Linked DNA regions of Homo sapiens: region 2 is linked to region 1. The links are contacts of gene promoters, found by promoter capture Hi-C in blood cells and fetal thymus (Javierre and others, 2016). All regions are on one chromosome and are shown on one strand. The core of a region is centred on a gene start or on the middle of the fragment in contact, and the rest is flanking DNA. Distances in the headings are between cores, read along the strand shown.

What was found. The method cuts DNA at HindIII sites, captures the fragments that hold promoters and counts their contacts. A CHiCAGO score of 5 or more calls a contact.
Region 2: a fragment that was not itself captured here is called in contact with the fragment with the promoter of TLE4 in region 1 in 1 of 17 cell types (total B cells); the score reaches 6.9 in total B cells.

The regions. Positions count from the first base shown.
Region 1 is chr9:79,568,616-79,574,039 of GRCh38, forward strand. It overlaps TLE4 (TLE family member 4, transcriptional corepressor), which reads left to right and starts at 3,350. Exons shown (of 20, transcript NM_007005.6): 1 at 3,350-4,220; 2 at 5,074-5,171. The coding sequence starts at 4,176. RefSeq lists silencers at 1,822-1,871, 3,782-3,901, 3,962-4,121, 4,232-4,701, 4,722-4,961 and enhancers at 3,232-3,361, 3,372-3,421, 3,462-3,551, 4,279-4,891. The HindIII fragment of the contact is 12,449 bases long and covers 1-5,424 here.
Region 2 is chr9:81,691,764-81,697,555 of GRCh38, forward strand. The region is part of intron 1 of TLE1-DT (TLE1 divergent transcript); the gene reads left to right. Among named protein-coding and RNA genes, the nearest start is that of TLE1-DT, 4.9 kb to the left of the region's middle. The HindIII fragment of the contact is 239 bases long and covers 2,761-2,999 here.

The sequences.
Region 1 (5,424 bases), core at 2,100-4,599:
TTAAAAAATAAAGAAACATCTTGACTTCTCTAGCCACTTTCCTGTTGACACAAACCATCGAGAGAGATTAGGGGAAAGATCCTTGCTATAAGTGATCTGATATTTCCTAACAGAGCAAAGTTTCCTCTTTGTCCACTGACCCTTTCAATAGTTCTTCGGGTTCTATTCTTAGAATTCTCGTTTCCTGTCCTGAGAGAAAACTGCACAGAATTTCAATAAATATGACCCAAATGATGTGGAAACTTCCTATAAGGATGCAATGAGGTATTCATTCATTAATGCCATCAACAAATATTTACTGAGCACCAACTACCAGACAGTGATGGCAGACATAATTTGGGGAGTTTGGAGTGCAACTGTGAACACAACCAGGTCCCTGTTCTCATGGAACTTGCTAACATTCTGGCTAAAATAGAGAACATGGAACTTCCTACAGAGGCACTGTGGGTGATTTCACAAACCATTGAAAAGCTCTAGTGGGAGCAAGCAACTAACCAACCTTAGAATAAAACATGGTTGTTGCTGGTGTTCTTAGAAACTTCGCTGTCCTCGTGTGCAAATTGTATCACTAAAGTCTTCTCACTTTTGATTCTTGGGAAGGTTTCAGGGCAGGGCTGTCTAATGGAAATATGTAAGCCTCATAATTTAAAATCTTCTAGGAACAAAGTTAAAAAAGTAAAAAGAGGCTGGGCACGGTGGCTCACGCCTGTAATCCAAGCACTTTGGGAGGCCGAGGCGGACGGATCACCTGAGGTCAGGAGTTCAAGACCAGCCTGACCAACATGGAGAAACCCCGTCTCTACTAAAAATACAAAAAATTAGCTGGGTGTGGTGGCGCATGCCTGTAATCCTAGCTACTCGGGAGGCTGAGGAAGGAGAATCGCTTGAACCCAGGAGGCGGAGGTTGCGGTGAGCCGAGATCGTGCCATTGCACTCCAGCCTGGGCAACAAGAGCGAAACTCTGTCTCAAAAAAAAAAAAAAAAAAAAAAAAAAGTGTGTGCCTGCAGTCCCAACAACACTGGAGGCTCAGGCAGGAGGATAGCTTGAGCTTCAGAGTTTGAGGCCAGCCTAGGCAACACAGGAAGACCCCCATCAATACAATAAATAAATAGAAACAGACAAAATTAATTTTACTAATATTTTTAATTGAGTTATTCAAAATATCACAATTTTGACATAATTATAAATTATTGAGCTGCAGTTTTTTCACATTAATTTTTTCAAAATGCCACATATATGTGTACTTACAGCACATCTCATTTTGAATTGGACACATTTCAAGTGCTTAACAGTCACATGTGGCTAGGTATGGAACAGCAGAGGTTCAGAAAACTGTCAAAAGGACTTCTCTGTCCTCTTATTTTGGGGATGGAGGCGAAAATATTTGCCGAATTGAAACATTCTGTGAACTTTGGCTCTGGGTTTTTAGTATGAAATTAGAGGCAGGTGAAGACCACCATAGCCTTCCTTTGCACCAGCTCACTACAGTGGCCAGAACGGAAGGAGGTTCACAGAACGTGCTAGGTTGGACATTAAGTCACCGAGTCATCCACTGAGGAAAGGGATATCATTAAGAAGAATAGTTTTCCACTAACGCCGAACCGGCGGCACCATCTCAACCAACAGGTCAAGTTACAGTAGGCAAGCACGCATAGAAATAAACGTCTAAAACCCAGCCTGTTACATTAGCCAACACTCTTCTTGACTTTTTCCGAATTTTTTCCCTGTCCCCAAGATTAGCCGCTCGCTAGAAAAGACTGCGAGCCTCAGCAGCCTCCCCTTGAACTGGGGCGCTGCCTCCAGCTGGACACGGACTAAGGATGGAAAGGCGCACTGACGGAGGCCGCCCCCATTTCCCAGGCCCCTCCCTAGGGGTGCCCCTCCTCAGCCATGGCTGCCCCTTTCTCTCCTCCTCCAGCATCTGCCCCTGGGGCCACCCCCACCTTTCCGCCATCTCTCGGGCCCGCGTGGCACCCTGCTCTGTTTTTAACGGGGATAAACTTGACTTGCTTCTCCAAAGAGCGGGAAAAAGAGGCGCAGTCTTGGTACTGATCTGGGGGAGGGAACGTCCCAGGGCGCGCAGGGGCGTTTTCTACCCGTGCCCCGTCGGCCTGCTCTGTTCAGTACCGACCGTGTTCGGGGTTCACGTGGCCCAGTCGGCAAAGTTTCTTTGGAGGTCCAGCGTCTCTGATTCCCGGATCTTCAGCCCCACCCGGAGCCCCCACGGTTACTGCCCCCCGCGACCCCCGATGGAGCGTCGGGATGCGCTTTCTCTCCGAGTGCCTCCGGGGGTGGAGGGAGGGAGGCCTGTTTCGGAACTAAATGGCAATCACAGCCCCCGCGGGGCTTGGAGGGACGAGCTCCCCGCCCACCCCGCGGCCCCGGCCCCAGCCAGCATCTCGCGACTCCATTTCTGGCTCTAAACAAGAACGGGGACCGAGTCGCGTTCACACGGAAAATTATGCCGGCTCCAGCGGCGCGTAAAATTGATGTGAACCGAACGAAGTAAGATCAGCGTGATCCTCCCCCTCTTGTCTCAACAGGGGTTTCGGCGCGTTACACAAGGCCGAGCTTGTCTCTTTAAGGAGACATTGGACCCTAATTAGTCCGCATTCCTGGCGCGGCTGCGGAGCGAGGGGCCGAAGGTGTCTGGGTTGGGAGACGGGTGGGCGGGAGGACGAGACTCGGAAGAAGATCTTTTGACCAGCCCCCAGGCTCACCGCTCCCTCCACCCTCTTTATTTTGCCGCCACCACCACCACCACCACCAACACCTAATTCTGAAGATGCAGCCAGGGCAGCAGCAACAGCAGCAGCCGCCGATTCTCCCAGCCCCACGTTACTTTGATTGACAGCTGAACAAATGTTTTCCCGGTTCGAACGCTCGCGCTAAGGAACGTCAGCCAAGGCGAAGCTCCGCCTTGGGCGGGCCATCTCCGCCCCGCCTCCGCCAACCTCATTCCTCTTCGTTAATTGGTCGGAGCTACAGGCGACGCCCGGCCCCCACGTGGGTTTCAGCTGGGTTGGCTCCTCCCCGCTGGCTTGCCATTTGTCAGCAGTGAAATGATGGGCACTAACACAGAACGGCGATTAATGTTCAGCCACCTCTGATTGGTTGGTGGAGACGCCTACCGCAACGGGGGTGGGCGGGGCGCTTGGAGAGCTCGCCAGAGCGCTCGCATGGCGGGCCGGTGATTGTAGTCAATCTGGCCGTATTCTCAGGCAGGGTCGCCCGGGGCGGACTACATCTCCCGGGATGCTGCGCGGCCGCCCCGCGGAAGATTGTGAATATGTATCAGAATGTTAATGATTAGCTGCTGCTAAATTTGGTCAAAGAAGTCACCTACACAGAGCGTGTTGTTAGAGCTGTGCTGAGCGGGTGTTTGGGTTGTTGGCTGCTTTCTTCCCCCTTTCTCACACACTTGTATATTATTTTGAGGTGGTGTTCGCAGAGTTTGAAAGGAGAGAGAATTAAAAAAAAAAGCCGCAAGCGTTTCACTCTTTTATTTTTATAATCCCCTTCAATTTGGGGTTAAAAAAAAGACAAGAAAACAGGAAGGAAGAGAAATAAGGAAATGAGATGTGGTAAAAGAAGCTAAAAGGTGCCTTTTAAAAGATCGTTGCTGTGAAGTGAAAAAAATCTCCAGAGAAACCAAAAAGCACCGCCGAGACCTCTTCCGAACCAAAGGAGTTTGTGTTTGCTTTTAGGGAAGAAGAAAGATCATTCATTCGGAGGAATAACAACCAATTAAAAGACAAATAAAAAAAGTTTGGAGTGGGACGCAGAGCGAGCGAGAGGAGCTGCCGGCGGGCGGTGGGGCGCGGAGCCCGCACTTTCCCGGCCGGGTGAGCGGCGGCCGCGGCGCCGGGCTCGGCGGGTGCGCCTCGGCGGAGCGAACGTCGGAGCGTTGCCTTGGGAGACGCGCGCCGGACAATGCCCGCGGCGGGCCAGTGACGCCCGCGGGGAATGCGGAGCGGCCCGGCAGCCGGCACCCAGCCGCCGCCGCGCGTTCCTGCCGCCCGTGTCACGCGAGACCCGGCGGGGGCCGGGACCGCCCGAGCCGCCCCTCAGACCGAGCCGGCCGCCTCCGCTGCCGCGGCCGCCTCCTCTTCGGGGTCATTAAAGCCAATGAGCCGCGCGCCTCTGCCGAGCGCAGCCAACTAAATCGGCTTGGATGATTCGCGACCTGAGCAAGATGTACCCGCAGACCAGACACCCAGTGAGTGCGGGCGGCGGGGCGCGGGCTCGCCGGGTGCTGGGGGATTCCCCGCGTCGCCCCCTGCGCACCGAGTTGTGTCTTTTGGCCGGAGGGGCGTGGAGAGCCGCCCGAAATCGGCGCCCCGCGCCGGGAGCAGCCCGCCCGCCATCACCCCCACCCCCCGGCGCGGTGGCCCTCGGAGGGGGTGCGGAGAGGCAATTGAGTTGTAGCCATTTTCTTATTGTTGTCTTTGAAGCCCCTGGAAGCCGCGCCGAGCCGTTTGCGGTCCCCGCGCCGCGACTCCTCGAGGGGGGGTGGCGAGCGATGAAGGAGGCGCGACTCCGCGCCCGGGCGGGGAGGGCGCCCTCGGCAGCGGCGCTGCTGGGCTGGCTGCGGTTTGGAAGTGCGGGGCGCCGGCCCCTCGCGCCGCGGGCCGCCGGGGCGAGCGGGCGAACGAACGAGCCGAGAGGGTGGCGGCCGCCTCCCTCCTCCCCCGGCCTGACCGCAGCCCGACGCCATGGCGCGGGTCCCCCCGACGGGCCAGTTTCGATTCCGGGTGAGGAGGGAGTGGGCGCGGCGCGCGGGTCCCTGGGTGCCTGTCTTTGGCCGGGGAGGGGAGACGGGACTCGAACCCTCGGGGTCCGGGGCGCGGGGGCCTGCGGGCGGGAGTATGCGGGGCCCCAGGACCACCTCGAAACCAGCCTCTGCCTGGGCTGTTGGGCGCGAGGAGGGTTGCGGGAGGAGAGTTTTAATCTCTCTTTGCTTGCGTGCGCGATGACCCTCACCCCCCGCTAACGCCGCATAGTAGGTTTTCTCCGTCTCCCTGCTTCGCCTGTGATGTGGGCTAATTAAATATTTTATTGTTGTTCTTCAGGCACCGCATCAGCCTGCTCAACCCTTTAAATTTACAATTTCCGAATCCTGTGATCGGATTAAGGAAGAGTTTCAGTTTTTACAGGCTCAATACCACAGGTAACGATATTGACTTTAGCTGATCCTTCTGTTTGCTTAGCTCTTGTCTCCCCGACAAATACACACAAACACTTACCCTCCTCCTTTTTTGTGGGGGCGTCACAAAGGTATTATTTTTTTTTCTCGGTGGGCAGAAAGGGCAAATCAAGGCCTCCTTCCTTAGGCAGGTGTAAATAAATTAAACATTTCTTCTACCGTAAATAAAAAGAAGGCAGAACAATCGAAACTGGGGAGACTTGGAAAACGCTGAGGC
Region 2 (5,792 bases), core at 1,630-4,129, 2.1 Mb after region 1:
GAGCAACTGATATTCCTCCCCGGCTTACCCAGGCTTTATGTGGTGCCTGTATCTTGAATAACTGGCACACTCCCATTAAGTTTAAACAGAGCCATTAAAATATGCTTTGAGATGGGGCAAAAGTGTTGCTACTTCTCTTCTTTCCCCACCCCGCTGCCCTCAAAATCAGTACTAAGGCATCTTTAAATGTTCTCTAACATAACTACTCACAGACAATGTGTCTGCTCACCATATTTCCCAGTTTGCCATGAGTAAACACTAGAAATTCTCTTTTAACTAGTCTTTCCTTGCCAATAGAGTTTGAAACACCAGGCCTTCTGATTTCCTTATAATGAAGTATCTGTAGTATCTACAGAGCATTATGAATTTAAAATTGGAAGGCCTTTAATTGTGTGCATAAAAATGGTTGGTTTTGGTTTTTGAAGCCTTTTTTTCCCATTTAGAGCATCGTCTGTCAGAGTGGGAGAAGGCTCTGCCCTTTTCAAGGTCATATTTTCTCCACGATTGTCATGCTGTAATAATTATACTACAAAACTCTCATCAAACTGCATTACAAATGACGGCGTTTAAACAGTCAAGTAGCTTTAATCTTATGTTTTAAATAAATAATATATGTGCAGATTGCCTACAGCCTGTTTAAAAGAAAATAGTCCTCCTCATGAAATCTATAATTTTGGTCTTCCATTTAAAGCCTGTTAACCATAATCTTCTTTACCTTTAACATTCATATGTCAATGATGTTTTTATGTGAAATGTATGATGCTCCCACTGGAAATTTTCTCTGAAAAACACAGTACCCTTTTTATGCTCTGCAGAGAAACAGAAAGATTGTCAGCTTGTTCATTTTCTTTTGATGCATATGTGGGTATATTCCCATTCATTTGTTGCTGATTATCAAATTTTCAACTCAGCAATAGCCTAAGTAATTACAAAAGCTAGATGTTATCTAGTACAGATACTAAACAAAATAGGAAAAGTTATAGATGCTGATCGTAGCAACTAGACATCTTTTAAATCTATTACTTTTTTATTTGAAATAATAATTGTAATTTTTTAATTTTTTTTGGAGACGGAGTCTCACTCTGTCTCCCAGGCTGAAGTGCAGTGGTGCCATCTCAGCTCACTGCAACCTCTGCCTCTTGGGTTCGAGATTCTCCTGCCTCAGCCTCCCCAGTAGCTGGGACTACAGGCGTGTGCCACCACACCCGGCTAATTTTTATATTTTTAGTATAGACGGGGTTTCGCCTTGTTGGCCAGGCTGGTCTCAAACTCCTGACCTCGTGATCCGCCCTCCTCAGCCTCCCAAAGTGCTGGGATTACAGGCATGCACCACCACACCTGGCCAATAATTATAGTTTTTAACAGACCACTTTTGTTGTGTTCTCTTCCTTTTAGCTGAGAATTATTGCTCATACATTTCCTCATTTGACTTTTTTTTTTTTTTTGAGTCAGCATCTCGCTCTGTCACCCAAGCTGGAGTGCAGTGGTGCGATCTCAGCTCGTTGCAACCTCCGCCTCCGAGGTTCAAGCGATTCATGTGCCTCAGTCTCCTGAGCAGCTGGGATAACAGGCGTGTACCACCACGCCCGGCTAATTTTTGTATTTTTAGCGGAGACAGGGTTTCACCATGTTGGCCAGGCTGGTCTCGAACTTCTAACATCAGGTGATCCGACCGCCTTGGCCTCCCAAAGTGCCGGGATTACAAGCGTGAGCCACCCCGCCCCACCTTTTTTTTTTTTTAATTGATAGTTTTCTTAAACCTAAGAATGTAGGGTCCAGAAGAATTTTTCCCAGCATTTCTTGGTAATCTTTTTCTCCCCCACTCCTTTACCAAAGAAAAGGGCAAGATGGACGTGGAGGTGAAAGGAAGAACGCAGAGAAGGGAAAAAAAATCAGTAGCAGATCCATGCAGCAGTAAAACCTCAAATAAAATCACTTCCAAAGAATCTCTTGCGGTTTCACACAATATGGTAAAATTAGAGATTGCAGGAAACCAACTAAATTAAACTGGGAGCATTTGAAGAGAAATGAGCAGACTTTATGAAAATGACACATTGACTGACCAGTATGCTTTTTTATCAACAATTTCTTTGTTAAGACGAAGATCAAAGGAACCTGCATATGTTTTCATTTTGTTCTAACTAGAAAATTACATCCAGATGTTTAATAGGCATTTGGTTGGTTTTTCAGCATTGATTAGATATGTTGGTTCTGTTTGCTTACAAGTGCAGCCGGATCATTAGCTAATGCAAAGAAATGTTTGCTGTGAGTTGCTAATTAGGGCTTTTGGAAGCCCTCCATGCTCAAGAACAATTTGTACTGTGGCCAGAAGAACTTGAGGGACTTGGGGAAGTTGTTTTCCCTTCTCTGTCAGAGTGGGGAGAAGCAGAAAGCCCTATTCCCTAATCTCCCTTTGCCTAGGGGGATTGCGATGAGATCCCCAAGGATTGGAGTGCAAATAAAGTAGGAAGAGACCACACAGGCACTCCCAAACATGGAGAGATAAATGTTCTCTTTCTGGAACCAGCACTGTGCGGTCTTTTGAGGTGGGGGGAGCGAACATCTAAAACACTGGATATTAACATGTGGAAGATGCTTGGTGCTAATGTTATCAAATACACAGCATTTTTAAGTATACTTTAGAGACAGATGGGAAAGCCCTTTATGATAAACGAGTGTACTTGAATTCGTTACTGTAGTACTTATAATTAAAAATGTCTCCTTTGCAATTTCAGTACTTTTACAGGATACGAGAGACCAAGCTTGGGAACTAGAAGGCTGGGGAGAGTGAAAGGAGTGAGGGAGAGGAATTTTGGAAGCTAGGGTGAGCCTGGGAGGAAATGCAGTGTTTACTTTCACAGCCCACCCATTCGTTTACCTTGTTAAAGCCCCAGAACTTGTACCAGATTAGCTATTCACTCAGTATTCAAATAAACTGTTTGGGAATTTGAGGAACCAGGCGGATAAACTTCTTAGCCCACCAATCACGTTTGTAAAAAAGCTTGACTGTGTCTGAGGCTTGCAGAAGAACACCACCTCAGCTGCGGCCGAACTTTTGTTTACTTAAGTCTATATTTCAAGAAAGATATCAGTCTAAAATAGCATGTGTTTATAAGCAATCATAGCAGTGCAGATATAAATCCCATTGTACGACGTTCTTCTGCCTGTTAATGCCCCTTACTAAGTCTGTTTACATCTTTTTTTCCCCTCCCCCCAAGACAGAGTCTTGCTCTGTCACCCAGGCTGGAGTGCAGTGGCACGATCTCAGCTCACTGCAACCTCCGCCTCCCAGGTTCAAGCAATTCTCCTACCTCAGCCTCCCGAGTAGCTGGGATTACAGGCGCCCACCACCACATCCAGCTAATTTTTGTATTTTTAGTAGAGACAGGGTTTCACCGTGTTGGCCAGGCTGTTCTCGAACTCCTGACCTCGTGATCTGCCTGCCTCGGCCTCCCAAAGTGCTAGGATTACAGGTGTGAGCCACCACGCCCGACCAAGTCTGTTTACAACTAATGCATATGTACGGCACACTCCTATGTATTAATGTTACCTGATTAATTTGGGATTTTCACACCAATAGGATATATTCATGATTAGTTTCTTTGAAGTAGTTCAAGCAGAGGGCCTTTCTGCCAGAGCTTTCCCTGTCTACCAGCGAGATGCCCCGGAAAAGCAAGAACAGTATTTTGGGGCTCGATGAAACACTGCCTGGAGTTCAGACCATAATAAAAGATCTCAGTGAAGTTTGTCCTGCCCCTCTTTGAGACGGAGTCTCGCTCTGTCGCCCAGGCTGGAGTGCAGTGGCGCGATCTCAGCTCACTGCAACCTCCGCCTCCCGCGTTCACGCCATTCTCCTGCCTCAGCCTCCGGGGTAGCTGGAATTACAGGCGCCCGCCACCACACCCGGCTAATTTTTTGAATTTTTAGTCAAGGCGGGGTTTCACCGTGTTAGCCAGGATGGTCTCAATCTCCTGACCTTGTGATCCACCCGCCTCGGCCTCCCAAAGTGCTGGGATTACAGGCGTGAGCCACCGCGCCCGGCCTTCTTTTTATTTTTTTAACCCGTTCTAAAGTCTGAGGAAAGTTGGGATTATACACTTTTTAAAAAAATTCATTCAGTTTAGCATTTAGCTCGACTGAAGCTGAAGAGCATTTGGTAGAAAAAAGAAAAAAGTAAAGGAAGCACCTTTGATGCTCCTTCCTACATATTCACATAACAAGAGCAGACCTGGGCCCCTTAATGTTCTCTGCTTGAGCCACCTTTGCTGCAGGCCAAGGACTTGCTAGGAAATCAACTTTAAACTGAGACATCTTTCCTTTTCCTTTAAAAGCTTTCACTTTGGCAGCATCATTTAAATAACTTTTCTTCCTGAAGCCAGCCATATCATTGAAGGGTTAAAGCTTGAGTTCAACTAATTGATGATCTTCAGATGTTCTTCAGAGCTGAAGGCAGGCGAACTCTCGGGATGGGAAGGGGACTAGAGTGCAAGTGTATGTTCCAGGTACCTTCACGTTTCCAGAATACAAACTTTAAGTCTAGTTGAGCAAGTTAAATGGAATAAATACAGAATGTTGGGACATTCTACAGGACAGCTAGCCTGAGCTATTTAAAAAGTTAATGTCGAGAGAGACAGGAGAGAAGTGGGGAAGGACTATTCCTTAAAAACAAAGATATATAATGAAAAAGCAATGTGTAAATCTTTATTGGCCCCTGGATTTAAAAAAAAAACATGCAAGATGTCTTGGGCAACTTTAATTTGGACTGGATATTTATAGATAGTATAGAATTATGCTTCTCCTTTTTTTGATGTTAGAATATTGTGGTTATTTTGGAAGATGTTATTCTGAGAAGATAGATGGTGAAGCATACAACTTCAAATAACACCTGCAACTGCAAATAAAAAGTGTATGTAGAGAGAGAAAAAGAAAGCAAATTTGGCAATGTGTTAACCATTACAGAATTTCAGGATAATGTCTATAGCTATTCATTTTACTATTCTTTCAATATTTCTATGTTTGAAAATTTTTCATGATGAAAAGTCTGGGAAAACAATTCTAGGTTCATTGTCTACATCTCTTTTTTTTGTGCATTATAATGGAATTCACTTCATAGTTAAAAGATTTACTTGTAATGTTTCTAGTAAAAAAAGAAAAAAGAAAAAGTATGAGGCCAGCCGCAGTGGCTCACGCCTGTAATCCCAGCACTTGGGAGGCCGAGGCTGGTGGATCACGAAGTCAGGAGTTCGAGACCAGCCTGGCCAACATGGTGAAACCCCATCACTACTAAAAGTACAAAAAATTAGCCGGGTGTGGTGGCGGGTGCCTATAATCCCAGCTACTCGGGAGGCTGAGGCAGGAGAATTGCTTGAACCCAGGAGGCAGAAGTTGCAGTGAGCTGAGATCTTGCTACTGCACTCCAGCCTGGGTGACAGAGCCAGAGCAAGACTCCGTCTCGGAAAAAAAAAAAAAAAAAAAAAAAAAAAATATATATATATATATATATATATACACACACACACACACACATATATATACACACACATATATATACACACACACACATATATACACATATATGTATATATGTGTATATATATGTATATGTATATACATATATATATGAAAAAATGATTTTTTCCCCTGATCATGGGAAAGCTGTCATACTAATAACCGAAGTATTACCCAGTGTTTTTGCTCTGGATCTTTTAGTAGTTTTATTTTATTATTTATGATATTTTATTTTTGTTTGGTTTTCTTCAGGAGTCCCAAATGTCCATTAGTTACCAATTAAT